4 separate regions of the Homo sapiens genome follow, and regions 1, 2 and 3 are each linked to region 4. Evidence: promoter capture Hi-C in human tissues and cell types (Jung and others, 2019). All regions are on one chromosome and are shown on one strand. The core of a region is centred on a gene start or on the middle of the fragment in contact, and the rest is flanking DNA. Distances in the headings are between cores, read along the strand shown.

Evidence for each region. Contacts are between HindIII fragments. The study calls those that stand out against the background at their distance.
Region 1: a fragment that was not itself captured here is called in contact with the fragment with the promoter of LAMC2 in region 4 in 3 of the 25 tissues and cell types used here (H1 embryonic stem cells, IMR-90 fibroblasts and aorta).
Region 2: a fragment that was not itself captured here is called in contact with the fragment with the promoter of LAMC2 in region 4 in 1 of the 25 tissues and cell types used here (pancreas).
Region 3: a contact is called between a fragment that was not itself captured here and the fragment with the promoter of LAMC2 in region 4, in 1 of the 25 tissues and cell types used here (aorta).

The regions. Positions count from the first base shown.
Region 1 is chr1:183,003,140-183,005,976 of GRCh38, reverse strand. No RefSeq gene overlaps it. Among named protein-coding and RNA genes, the nearest start is that of LAMC1, 19 kb to the left of the region's middle. The HindIII fragment of the contact is 3,870 bases long and covers 1-2,837 here.
Region 2 is chr1:183,333,088-183,335,982 of GRCh38, reverse strand. All of the region lies in intron 1 of NMNAT2 (nicotinamide nucleotide adenylyltransferase 2), which reads left to right. Among named protein-coding and RNA genes, the nearest start is that of NMNAT2, 84 kb to the left of the region's middle. The HindIII fragment of the contact is 4,013 bases long and covers 1-2,895 here.
Region 3 is chr1:183,041,969-183,044,841 of GRCh38, reverse strand. The region is part of intron 1 of LAMC1 (laminin subunit gamma 1); the gene reads right to left. Among named protein-coding and RNA genes, the nearest start is that of LAMC1, 20 kb to the right of the region's middle. The HindIII fragment of the contact is 6,365 bases long and covers 1-2,873 here.
Region 4 is chr1:183,184,875-183,187,689 of GRCh38, reverse strand. LAMC2 (laminin subunit gamma 2) reads right to left here and starts at 1,426. Exons shown (of 23, transcript NM_005562.3): 1 at 1,259-1,426. The coding sequence starts at 1,337. RefSeq lists a silencer at 1,383-1,452 and enhancers at 857-2,056, 1,559-2,141. The HindIII fragment of the contact is 15,048 bases long and covers 1-2,815 here.

The sequences.
Region 1 (2,837 bases), core at 293-2,792, 180 kb after region 4:
TGTGCCACCGCACCCAGCAGAAAAAAAAAAAGTTAAAAAACAATAAATGTTGACATGGGTGTGATGAAAAGGGAATGCTTATACACTGCTAGTGGGAATGTAAATTAGTACAACCTCCATGGAAAACAGTATGGAGATTTCTTAAAGAACTAAAAGTAGACCTACCATTCAATCCAGCAATTCCAATCCTGGGTATCTACCCAAAGGAAAAGAAGTCACATCGAAAAGACACTGCACACATATGTTTATCGCAGCACAATTCACAATTGCAAAGATATGGAACCAACCTAAGTGCCCATCAACCAATGAATGAATAAAGAAAATGTGGTCTGTATACACCATGGAATACTACTCAGCCATAAAAAGGAACACAATTACGTCTTTTGCAATGAATTGGGTGGAGCGGGAGGCCATTATTCTAAGTGAAGTAACTCAGGAGTGGAAAACCAAATACTGCATGTTCCCACTTATAAATAGGAGCTAAGCTATGGGTACCCAAAGGCATACTGGGTGGTATAATGGACTTTGAAGACTCAGAAAGGGAATGAGTGGGAGTGGAAAGAGGGATTTAAGAAAAAACTACATATTGGGTTTAATGTACACTACTCGGGTGACAGGTGCACTAAAATCTCAGACTTCACCCCTATACAATTCATCTGTGTCACCAAAAACCACTTATACCCCAAAAGCTATTGAAGTTAATATACATATATATTTACCTAATAATGTTACATATGTGTGTATAAAAAGAAAGCTTATATATGTGCATGTGTGTGTGTGTGTATATACATATATGTCTCTATATGTGTGTGTGTGTGTGTGTGTGTATATATATATATATAAATATAAAGAAAGCTGGTGGCTACCACTCCAGTAAGAGGTAGAAAGTGATGAATGAGAGAATGGAGAAACATGGCAAACTTAAGATATACTTGGGAGGTAGAATAAGAACCTCCAAGGTATTTTCTGGCTTTAGAAGCTTGAAAAGACGTAAGAAATATACTTCTATATTCTGGATTGAGTGACTGGGTTAGTGATGATGCCATTTACTGAGATTAGAAGCACTGGAAGGAGAACAGGTTTGGAAATTAAGTTTGAAGATGCAGAGTCCAGTTTTCAAGTTCAATTTTCTTTATAATACTGTGTTAGATGCTAAATAAGGTGTAGTGCCTGACCTTGGGGTTAACAATACAGAATAATATCCATTATTATAGTTTTGTAAAACAAAAGGCTAAATAGAGATATGTAGGATGTTGAGTTAGGCTGGTTAGGGGAGTTTACACTGCGGTAGTGAATAAACCCCAAAGTTCAGTGACTTAACCAACAAAAGTTTATTTCTTGCTTACATGAAGCCTAATGCAGGATCAGAGGACTTCCCAGAGCAGCTCCCTACATGTGGTCTGTTTAGGCCATTTCCATCTTGTGGTTTTACCATCCCATCACAAGACCTTTACACTTGCCAAGAGAAGAGAGAGTTGGAGGGTCATGCACCAACTCTTAGGTGTTTTGGATCAGAAGTGGCGCATCTCACTTCCACTCACAGCCCTTTGACCAGAAGAAGTCACATGGCCTTACCGCACTGGAAAGGAGCTGGCAAATGTGCAGCATCAAAAGACTCTATTCAATGAGGAGCAAGAATCTCTGCCACAAATATGAAATGGGAGTAGTTAATTATTTGAGGAGTCAAGACATCTTTCAGAGAGAGAGGCCACATTTGTGCTGGGAGTAAAGGAAGCCTTAGGATTGGTCATGTAATGAAGGCAGAGGAAGGACTGCAAGTTAAAGGAACATCACATACAAAAACACTGAAATATGTAAGAGCTGGATATGCTGGAGATGTCTGGGGAATGGTGAGAAGAAACTGACAGAGTAGAGGTTTTCAGGGAAGTAGAAGAAAATAGGTGATTATACAGATTGGGGAGAGCGCAGATATGCTAAAGAGGTTGTATTCTGATCTGTAGATGAGGGTGAGCCATTGGTGGTTTTTAGGCAAATAAATAACTTTATCAGGGGCAGTAAAACCATCTAGGAGATGGTCATATAGTCCAGAGAGGTGAGAGGCTCAACCTTTAGAAGAGGCCATGGAGGTTATAACAGATGTGTTATACATGTAGATATAGTAGATATATAAGTAGATATAATAAATATATCTACTTAGATGACAGAATGGGCGAATGAGTAAAACTAAAACCAGTAGCAAAAGAGGGTGAGGGAGAAGGAGCTGTGGAGAATAAATTTGAGGTTTCTAGCTTGGTCAGTTCAATGGATGGTGAAGCCATTAACAAAGGTAGGGAAAAAAGTCACGGGAACAGACTGAAGAGTAAAAATAACTCTTTCTGCAGCTAGAAATTCAAGCCTTTTGGATCATCCTTTGTTGAAGTTTGTTTACCAAGAACGAATCTATAACTATGTTGTAATAATATTTTTCTTAAAAAAAAATCCTTGCCTACAGAAACACTGGAAGAGTAGACTTTGTTATTAGCTAAAAGCACCTCCCTTCTTTGAGTCTTAGCCCAGTTTCTCTTGCCTACTGGATCCGATGTGCTCGGAGCATGGAAGCATCTGGAGCTGCCACATTTCCTCATTCAAGCCAAAACAAGTTAACTCATCTGTGGCTTATCTAATATCCGCCCTGTAGATCTCATGGGAGGATATAGCCCTTATTACTAAAATAATGTGTAGAAAACAAAAATAGCATAAATAGAAGTTTCTGAACATAATCTTTAGAGTTGACTTTCAAAATAACTTACTTACATAAAGTTAACATAAATTAATGTTTTGTGTTTAAGTGTTGCTTGGTTTTGACAAAGTATCTTTGCTGTATTTTTTGATATTCT
Region 2 (2,895 bases), core at 87-2,586, 150 kb before region 4:
GATACCCTTGTTGTGAAGGTCTCTCCCTCCTACTCTCCTTGTAAACCTCCGTATCTCCTGAGATCATCCTGTGCCCAAAGATAGGCCAGCCTATTGTATTCACAGATTATTTATCCAACAAACATTGATGGGTGCCTGTAATGTGTCAAGCACTGGTTAGACTTGGGATCAGAAGATATATTAGACATGATCCTGACTTCTGAGACCCTATAATCTAGTTGGCAAAACATATAGTAAAAATAATGAAATAAAATGAATGAAGTACACAGGGATAACTGCAAAAAGGAGTATGCGCAATGTGGCAGCACAAAGGCATGATCAACTAACCCCATCCTGGGACACCAGGGAAGTTCTATTTTTCCCAAGCTTTAGGAAGGCATTATATAGACATTTCTCCCATGTCTATCCCAAGGAAACATAGCCAAGCTGGAACTGAAGATGACTACAGCAGAAACATCTTCAAGCTTGGCTGTTGCAAAAGCATCCATAATCAGAAAAAGAGCTTCCTCACATCACCTTGCCACAGAGGGGTGCAGAGGAGACTCAGGTGGTGGCCATGTTGGTGGTTCATTCACATTTTACACTAATGAGTGAAGGGCTATTTCCTTCCTATTTGCATCCACAGCTGGAGGTATAGATTTTTCAAGACATAGGGCCGGATTTGTGCAGAGGTATAGAGTAGAAAGAGACCATGTTGTTTCTACCAGAACTTTTTAATTTGGACATCTGAGTAGATGGTGTTGCTGTTAACAGAGACGGGATCTAACAAGAAGAAGGAAACTAGTTGTTTGGGGAATTGTTATTTTGGTTGTGATTGTTCGGTGACTTTTCACAGAAGCCCAGTAAAACGGGAATAATGCAACAGTTCAGTGGATTAAATGAGGAGATACCTGTAAGGTACCTGGTAGGTTATACTTGACAATTGTTATTAATTGATGTAGTGAGGAGCTGAGAGACCTGGCTGAATCAGATTTTTATGTTAATCTAATTCCAAGTTGTGCTCCAGTTCCTTAACTCTCTCCACTTAGGACAATATCATGTAACTTTTTCCTGACCCAGAACAGACAGGAAGTCAGCCCAGAGCTTCCTTACTAGGGCACCGTGGAGTCTCCCAACCCCAGGGCTTAGCTGTCCTGGCAGTTTGGGTCACGACCTGAAGAATGGGTGGCCTTGGGCCAGGTGCGGTGGCTCATGCCTGTAATCCCAGCACTTTGGGAGGCTGAGATGGGCGGATCACTTGAGGTCAGGAGTTCGAGACCAGCCTGGCCAACATGGTGAAACCCCATCTCCACTAAAAATACAAAAATTAGCTGGGCTTGGTGGTGGGTGCCTGTAATCCCAACTACTCAGGAGGCTGAGGCAGGAGAATCGCTTGAACCTGGGAGGCGGAGGTTGCACTGAGATGATGCCACTGTACTCCAGCCTGGGAGACAGAGCAAGATTCTGTCTCAAAAGAAAAAAAAAAAGAATGGGTGGCCTTGTACCTAACTCACCTGCTTCCACCGGCCCTGTGGCGACACAGACTCTTGAGTGTGTTGAAATAAACTTAGTTGAATCTGGGCTTTCAGTCTGAGGAGGCTGTCATAGAAAGCAAGGAGTCTATTGAAATTCAACAGGGCCGGGTATGGTGGCTCACGCCTGTAATCCCAGCGCTTTGGAAGGCTGAGGCGGATGGATCTCCTGAGGTCAGGAGTCTGAGACCAGCCTGGCCAATATGGTGAAACCCTGTGTCTACTAAAAATACAGCAGTTAGTCGGGCATGGTGTTGTGCTCCTGTAATCCCAGCTACTCGGAAGAGTGAGGCAGGAGAATTGCTTGAGCCCGAAAGAGACGGTGGTTTCAGTGAGCCGAGATCGTGCCACTGCATTCCAGCCTAAGTGACAGAGCAAGACACCGTCTCAAAAAAAATGAGACGGTGAGGAAGAGGCATCGTGCACATTTCCCAAAGCCTCTGCACTTGTCTTTATCACTTTCTCCTTTCGGCTTTCTTACTTAACTGGGAACAATGAGATCATTTTCTCCTTTCAGTTTTCTTACTTACTGGGGACAATTAGACAGCATTGGTGGATCCCGGAGATAGTTGAAGAGAACAAGAACACAGCTGGAAATGACAGAGCTAATGGCAGCATTTATAAGTCAGGAGGGGGAAGCACCAGCAGCAGATTATCTGTGAAGAAAGCCAAAAGGAGCACCATGTTTCAGGTTTATCCAGCAATGACTTGAGTTATGTGCAAGTCAAGCTGCTTAGAAAGTGTATTCGTTTCCTATTATTGCTGTTACAAATTACCAGAAATTTAGTGGCTTAAAACAATACAAATGTATTATCTTACAGTTCTGGAAGCCAGAAGTCCAAAACAAATTAGGTGGGCTGCATTGCTTTTAGAGGCTCTAGGGGAGAATCTGTTTCCTGCCCATTTCCACCTTTCAGAGACTGCTTGCGCTCCTTGGCTCATGGCCCCACATTACTCTGACCTCTGCTTCTTTCCTCACATCTCCTTCTCTGACTCTGACAATCCAGCCTCCCTCTTATAAGGATCCTTAAGTTAAATAATCAGGATTATCTTCCCATTTGAAGATCCTTAACTGAATCACATCTGTAAAGTCCCTTCTGCCATGTAAGATAACATACTCTCAGATTCTGGGGATTAGGATGTGGATATCTTCATGGGGGCAGTTATTCTGCCTACCATAGTAGAGATGACCCTCTCATCCCACTCCAGCCTGAGTTTTCTTTTGGCCCAAGGACCTCTCTGAAGATGTTCAGTAAATGCCTCTGAGTGCTGGAGTGACCACACTTTTACCAGCTCCAGGTATCCCCTGGAGAGTTCTCTGGGCATTGGCTTCCACCTGGGTTTTGTTCCTTCCCCTAAAAGAGATTTGTGAAGCTGTTTGGAG
Region 3 (2,873 bases), core at 302-2,801, 140 kb after region 4:
AAAAAAAGAAAGGTATTTAACTTGGCATTGTGGATCCTGGAAAGGAAGACAACGCTTCTTAAAAAGAAACAATTTTGTGGTTGGTTTCAGTTATTTTCCAGTTCTTAAAGGAAAGTTCAACAGAACAGACAGGTCTTCTATTACTACTGTCCACAAAAGGGGGATGTCTTAAATCTTGAGGAAATAGCTCCGTGGCCTTTCTCCAATGATTAGTGAACACAGCTCTTCCAAACACCCTTCCAAAGCCATGGCCTGGATATATTTTTTTAATTTAGTCCTAGGTTTCTCTGTCAGTTTAGAATTGAATCTTCTGATTCATCAAAAGAGCCAAAGAATATTTAAATGCCTATCGTTTTACGAGTCAAGTACCCAGCTCTAAGTTACTGACCTAATGGTTTAAAACACGGTTCCCACGCTGGGTGCATATGAAAATAAATAAACATAAAAAAGATTCCCAAAGAAGATGGTATGCTCAAGTGACCAATGAGTGATACAGTAAGCACTGCTGTGTCACACTTCTAAGATGTGGGGAAGAATTTATAGAGAAGGCATTTTTCTTCCAAAAGAAACTAGGACAGTAAAGCCCAGAGGACAACATGATGTATTTTGGGCAAAGGACTCTGCACAAATAAAGAGAATGAGTTTGACTTTAAAAAAATAAAAAAGAAAGATGTCAATTCAAGGAGACTGTAATCTTTTAGAAAGCAAAAACCAAGCTGACAGAACACAACAGGCAAAAGCAATCATTTATAACCATTTACACAGTCATCCTCAAAACTGAGTGACTAAAGATTCCTAGACACTGATTTACTAAGGATTAAAAAAAACTGGACAGAAAGTTAGTTGTGATAAGCAGGTAGGTAAACAGATAAAGAGCAGACAAGAAGGACACAGACATCGCCAAAATTATCTGCTTCTGAAAACAAGAACAACAGAATAACTTTCAATTCAAAATGTATCTCAAATGAAATGGCTTTAACATAGCCAGGTTTCTCACAAAACTATGCATGGTAGTAATGTCATTAAAAATGACATTGCCTTTCTAAAATGATTTTTAAAAGGCAACACCTTTTTACAAAAATCAATGAAGCAACAACAAAAATTGAACGGATGTCCCTAGAGGAATAGAAATACTTTTCTAATAGGTCACTTTTTATCAGAATTCAACCCTATTTCTTTTCTTCTTTTAAACATTTATGTAATGCCCTATCTGTAGTTCTAAATATTGTTACCATAATTTCATAATCCATTCACTCAAATTGTTAGAACATGTCAAAATTCACCCTTTCAATGAAATGAAATTTCCTATTAAACTTTATCTGCTTATTTAGATAACCAATTTACCAGATGCCTATTGTTCACATTTTTATATAGTCTTCAGTAGTTTTATCACTATCTGTAAAAGTGATATAACTTACGTAATCAAATGTGATATAAGTCCATAATCCTTCATCTGTGATTCTCAATTCAAAAAGCCCTAAACAGCAGGAGATTTTCATAATGTGTGACAACAATACATGACCTAGTGTGAGGCTATGATAGCCTTTCATCAGTCTGTTTCGTACGAATACATTTTACTGCAGATATATTCAATTGCTTGGAGATGGGGGTCCTGCTGAGGGTGTTATGTAACATACACCCATCTTCCTAAATCTACTAGATCATAAGCACCCCACTCTAAGTTGGACACCTAATTAATGGTTAAAACATGATTCACAGCTGCCTTCAATGAACTCGCAATGAAGAAAAAGATAAATATACATTTAAGAAGATTCCACAACAAAACTGTATATGTTCAAGCCACAAAAAGCACTGATTTATCACTTCTGGAACTCTCATTCCTAAAAGACATCTGGATTTTAAAACAGCTCTGATTGGTCTGTCACAGCTGAAGGTAAACACCATCAGCATCGTCAAGTGAATTCAGACAATGCCCATGTGGGATGTGCTCCTCCGAGGCAGATAGACATAGAGCCCATCAGTGTAAGTACACAACACCAAGAAGGTACAGTGGGATCTCAGTGCCAGGAGAGGGCTGGGGGTGTGAAAATGGAAAAGGTCAAAGAATAAACCAATTCTGTAAAGTCAGGGAGTGAAGGCTGTGCACTAAGAGCAGAATGAGTACACACCCTTTCTTCAGAGGCTCTTTTACTGAAAAGCTAAAGTTGTGAGGATCCACAGTGAGCGTGGTCCCTATTTTTCTATATCCACTCCCTACAACTGCCAGCCACAGAATGGGAACCTCTGAAGACTCTCCAGAAAGACCAGAACTTGGGAGAAACCAGACTCTTCAGCACAGGAGTTGGCATGGCAGAGCTGTCTGCCAAAAATCTGTTCTCTCCCCACCAACCCATCCATCACTGTAATAGATCTGTGGCCAGGCACAAGACCACCCAGCTAGACCCCATTTTCCAGCCTCTACTGTGTTTATGAGGTGGCCAAGTGACTAAGCTCTCTCTGGTGGCAGATAATACACTTTCAGGTGTTATGGCACTTTGGGGAGGTAAGATTTTCAAGTGTTAAGATTTAGGCACACACTCCTCAATATCTTCCCAATTGGAAAGCACAGGGGCCTATCACCCAGCCTCAACCAGGCACATAAGAATGATACCCTAAAGGATCCCAGATTATTTCCAGGAAACACTCATGAGTCCCTGAATGTCAGCGTGGAGAACTACCCTGCTGTCCTGAACCACTGACCTCAGAATTACCACCTGAAGGAGAAACAAACTTCAATGATTTAAAACTGGGTTTTTATTTACTTTATTACTTTATACTGGGGCTCTTTGATACAGTGACTTACTCTTCATCTAACAATGCTGGTGAGGAAACTATACCATGTACTAGCCATCCTATTCTGCCTGATCAATTTT
Region 4 (2,815 bases), core at 177-2,676:
TCCCAGCCCTAAGAGAACATACCCTTCATGACCATTTTCAGAACCTTTTATTTATCACTTTTTAAAACTATATATATTTAAGGTATACAACATGATGTTTCGATATACACAGTAAAATAGTATTCTAGTCAGGCAAATTAATATGTTCATTATTTCACATACTTATCTCCACCTTTTTTTTTTTTTTGGTGGCAATCATACATGGTTTTGAAAATGGTAGTCAGAGATGATAGGTTGGAAGTTAATTCCAAGACTTTTTTAGACAAAAAGGACTGTAGCATTGCATTCAAACACATGCTCAAACATTATTCATGCCACTCAAATCCAATTCAGGCCAGCATCACCCGGAATGCACAATAATATTGGGAATGGCTTATACAATTGCATGTGCATGTGAGCATTATCTCATATTCATGCATGCACTTGTGTGGAAATGGCTCTTGGTCTTGGACCTATTGAAAGAATGATTGAAACGCCATCAGATGCAGGATGCAATATAAACATAAAACATCAGGGCAATTATACAGGCATATATCCATAGAACTAAGTGACAAGGAAAACACCCATAAAATGTTGCCATAGCTGACACATGCTTACAGTTAAGAGTTGCTAGGTTCTCACAAAGTTTTGTTTACATGAACTTAACGTCTAACACATGACAGCCAACTAGGTGCCCTAGATAAGATCAAATGATATATGACACAGGTGCCCAGTAAGTGCCTGTTGAATGAATATTACATGAAAATACTATGAAAAGTAACGTGATGCAAAAGTTAAGGGTATTGCTAATACTATTAAGGCTCATTTTTCCATCCGAAATTTGAAACATCAATTACAGGATTATTGAAGAGGTTCCTTTGCAATCTTTGTGGTGTTCACAGTCATGGGAAACATTGCCACCAAAACCTTTTAATAAAAGCACACGCTGGGGAAAGAACGTATATAACAACACATTATTGATTAAATAGCGGCCCCTTGGTCGAAAAAAGACATCAAGAAGGAACATTTTTAAGGTAAGGAAGACCCTCTTTTGTCACAGCTTATTGTCTTACTATTTTTAAAAAGCAGATAGCTTTATATATTAGTCTCATTTAAAATCCGTCTCTGGAGGAGCCCCAGATAGGGGAGGAGAAGGGAGCTCTAACAAGTTTCTGGACAAAGTGGGAATCCTCGGAGGTACGTTCAGCCATCACGGTCTGCAGAGAAAGGCAGATTCTCAGCCCAGGGCTGAGATGTTTCCTTGTGGAAGCCGACTCACCTTCCCTCCTGGAGGTGGCCCGGGCTGCGGGCAGGAGGAGCGAGAAGCAGAGGCAGCAGCCCAGCCAGAGCGCAGGCATGGCGGGGCCGGGCCGCTCAGTCTCTGTCTCCGCTGCAGGGGTCGCTGCCCGGCGCCTCGGTTGGTGGTTCTCACTCTGCGCTCCGCTGTGCCTTCCTTTTCCTTGATCAGGTGGTTTTATCGACTCTTCTACCTGACTCAGTCCTGACAGGAAGAGAGCCTGTGTTTCAGGGTGTGACTCACCTGTGAATAAGGAGGACCCAGCCCTCCAGAGGCAGACAAACACACAGAGCACAAACCGGGCTGGAAAATCGCTCCCCGCAGCCGCCCGCTCCCCCTCGCAGCGAGGAGGGCGCACACCTGGCCCGGGCCAAGGGTGTGGCACAGAGGCTGCGGCCCGGGAGCCTTTGCCTGGAATGTGCGAGATTCCCCGGAGCCCTCCTTCTCTCCCGGGGTGGTCCAGGGCAGATTCACAGAGGTAGACAGCAGCCCGCCCCTTCCTCAAACTGGGAGGCCCAATCTTAAGAGCGCTAACTCAGAAATAAGGCAGCAGCCCGAATCAGCTCCGGCTTAAAGGACATCAAGGAAGACAAGTCAGTCGGAGAGTCACAACAGGGTCCTCTCCACCCTCCAGTTTAGGGTCAACCTCTCCTTTCTCCAGGCTGAACCAAGGGTTTCTCTCCTGGTCCACATAACTTCCTGCTCACCAGGGTTAGCAACTCATAAAGTAACCTATTGACTGGCCAACCTCCCTATAAAGACTGAGTATCGTTTTCTTTTTGTTTGTTTTTTTGTTTGTTGGTTGGTTTTTGTTTTTGTTTTCAATGGCACCATCATAGCGCACTGCAGCCTCCAACCCCTGGGCTCAAGCAATCCTCCCACCTCAGCCTCTTGAGTAGCTAGGGCTACAGGCAAATGCCACCACACCCAGCTAATTTTTTAATTTTTTGTAGAGACGAGGTCTTGCTGTGTTGGGCAGGCTGACCTTGAATTCCTGGCCTCAAGTAATCCTCCTGCCTTGGCCTCCCAAAGTGCTGGGATTATAGGCATAAACACCATCCCTGGCCCACTTTATATTCCTAACTATAATAGTATCTAGCTTGCAGTTGGTGCTTAATAAATATTGGCTTGAAATGAATAAGAAAGAGGATCTAGATACCAAACTCTTTTACATCTTAGAGTGTATTTCTCAGCCACTCTCCATGGGCACTAGAGAAAATATTTGTTGAGACCAACTTTGAATGTTATCTACTAGCACAGTGCTAGCTGAAGTGAGTAATATCTAGACAACTGCAAATCTTGGTATAAACTATATTGTCTCTTCTCCTAAGGAGGCTAGTGACAATAATTCAGAGAGGTGGCTGTCAAGAAGGCTTTGGTTCCTGCTAGAGATTTAAAAATTGCTAGAGCTTTATAAATACACAATCTGTCCAAAACAACCAACCCTTCTTCTCAACATTGAGGCCTACAAAGGCCCCCAATAAATAGCTATTTGCTGACTAAATATATGAATATTCTCCAGATTGTTCTGTGGATGAC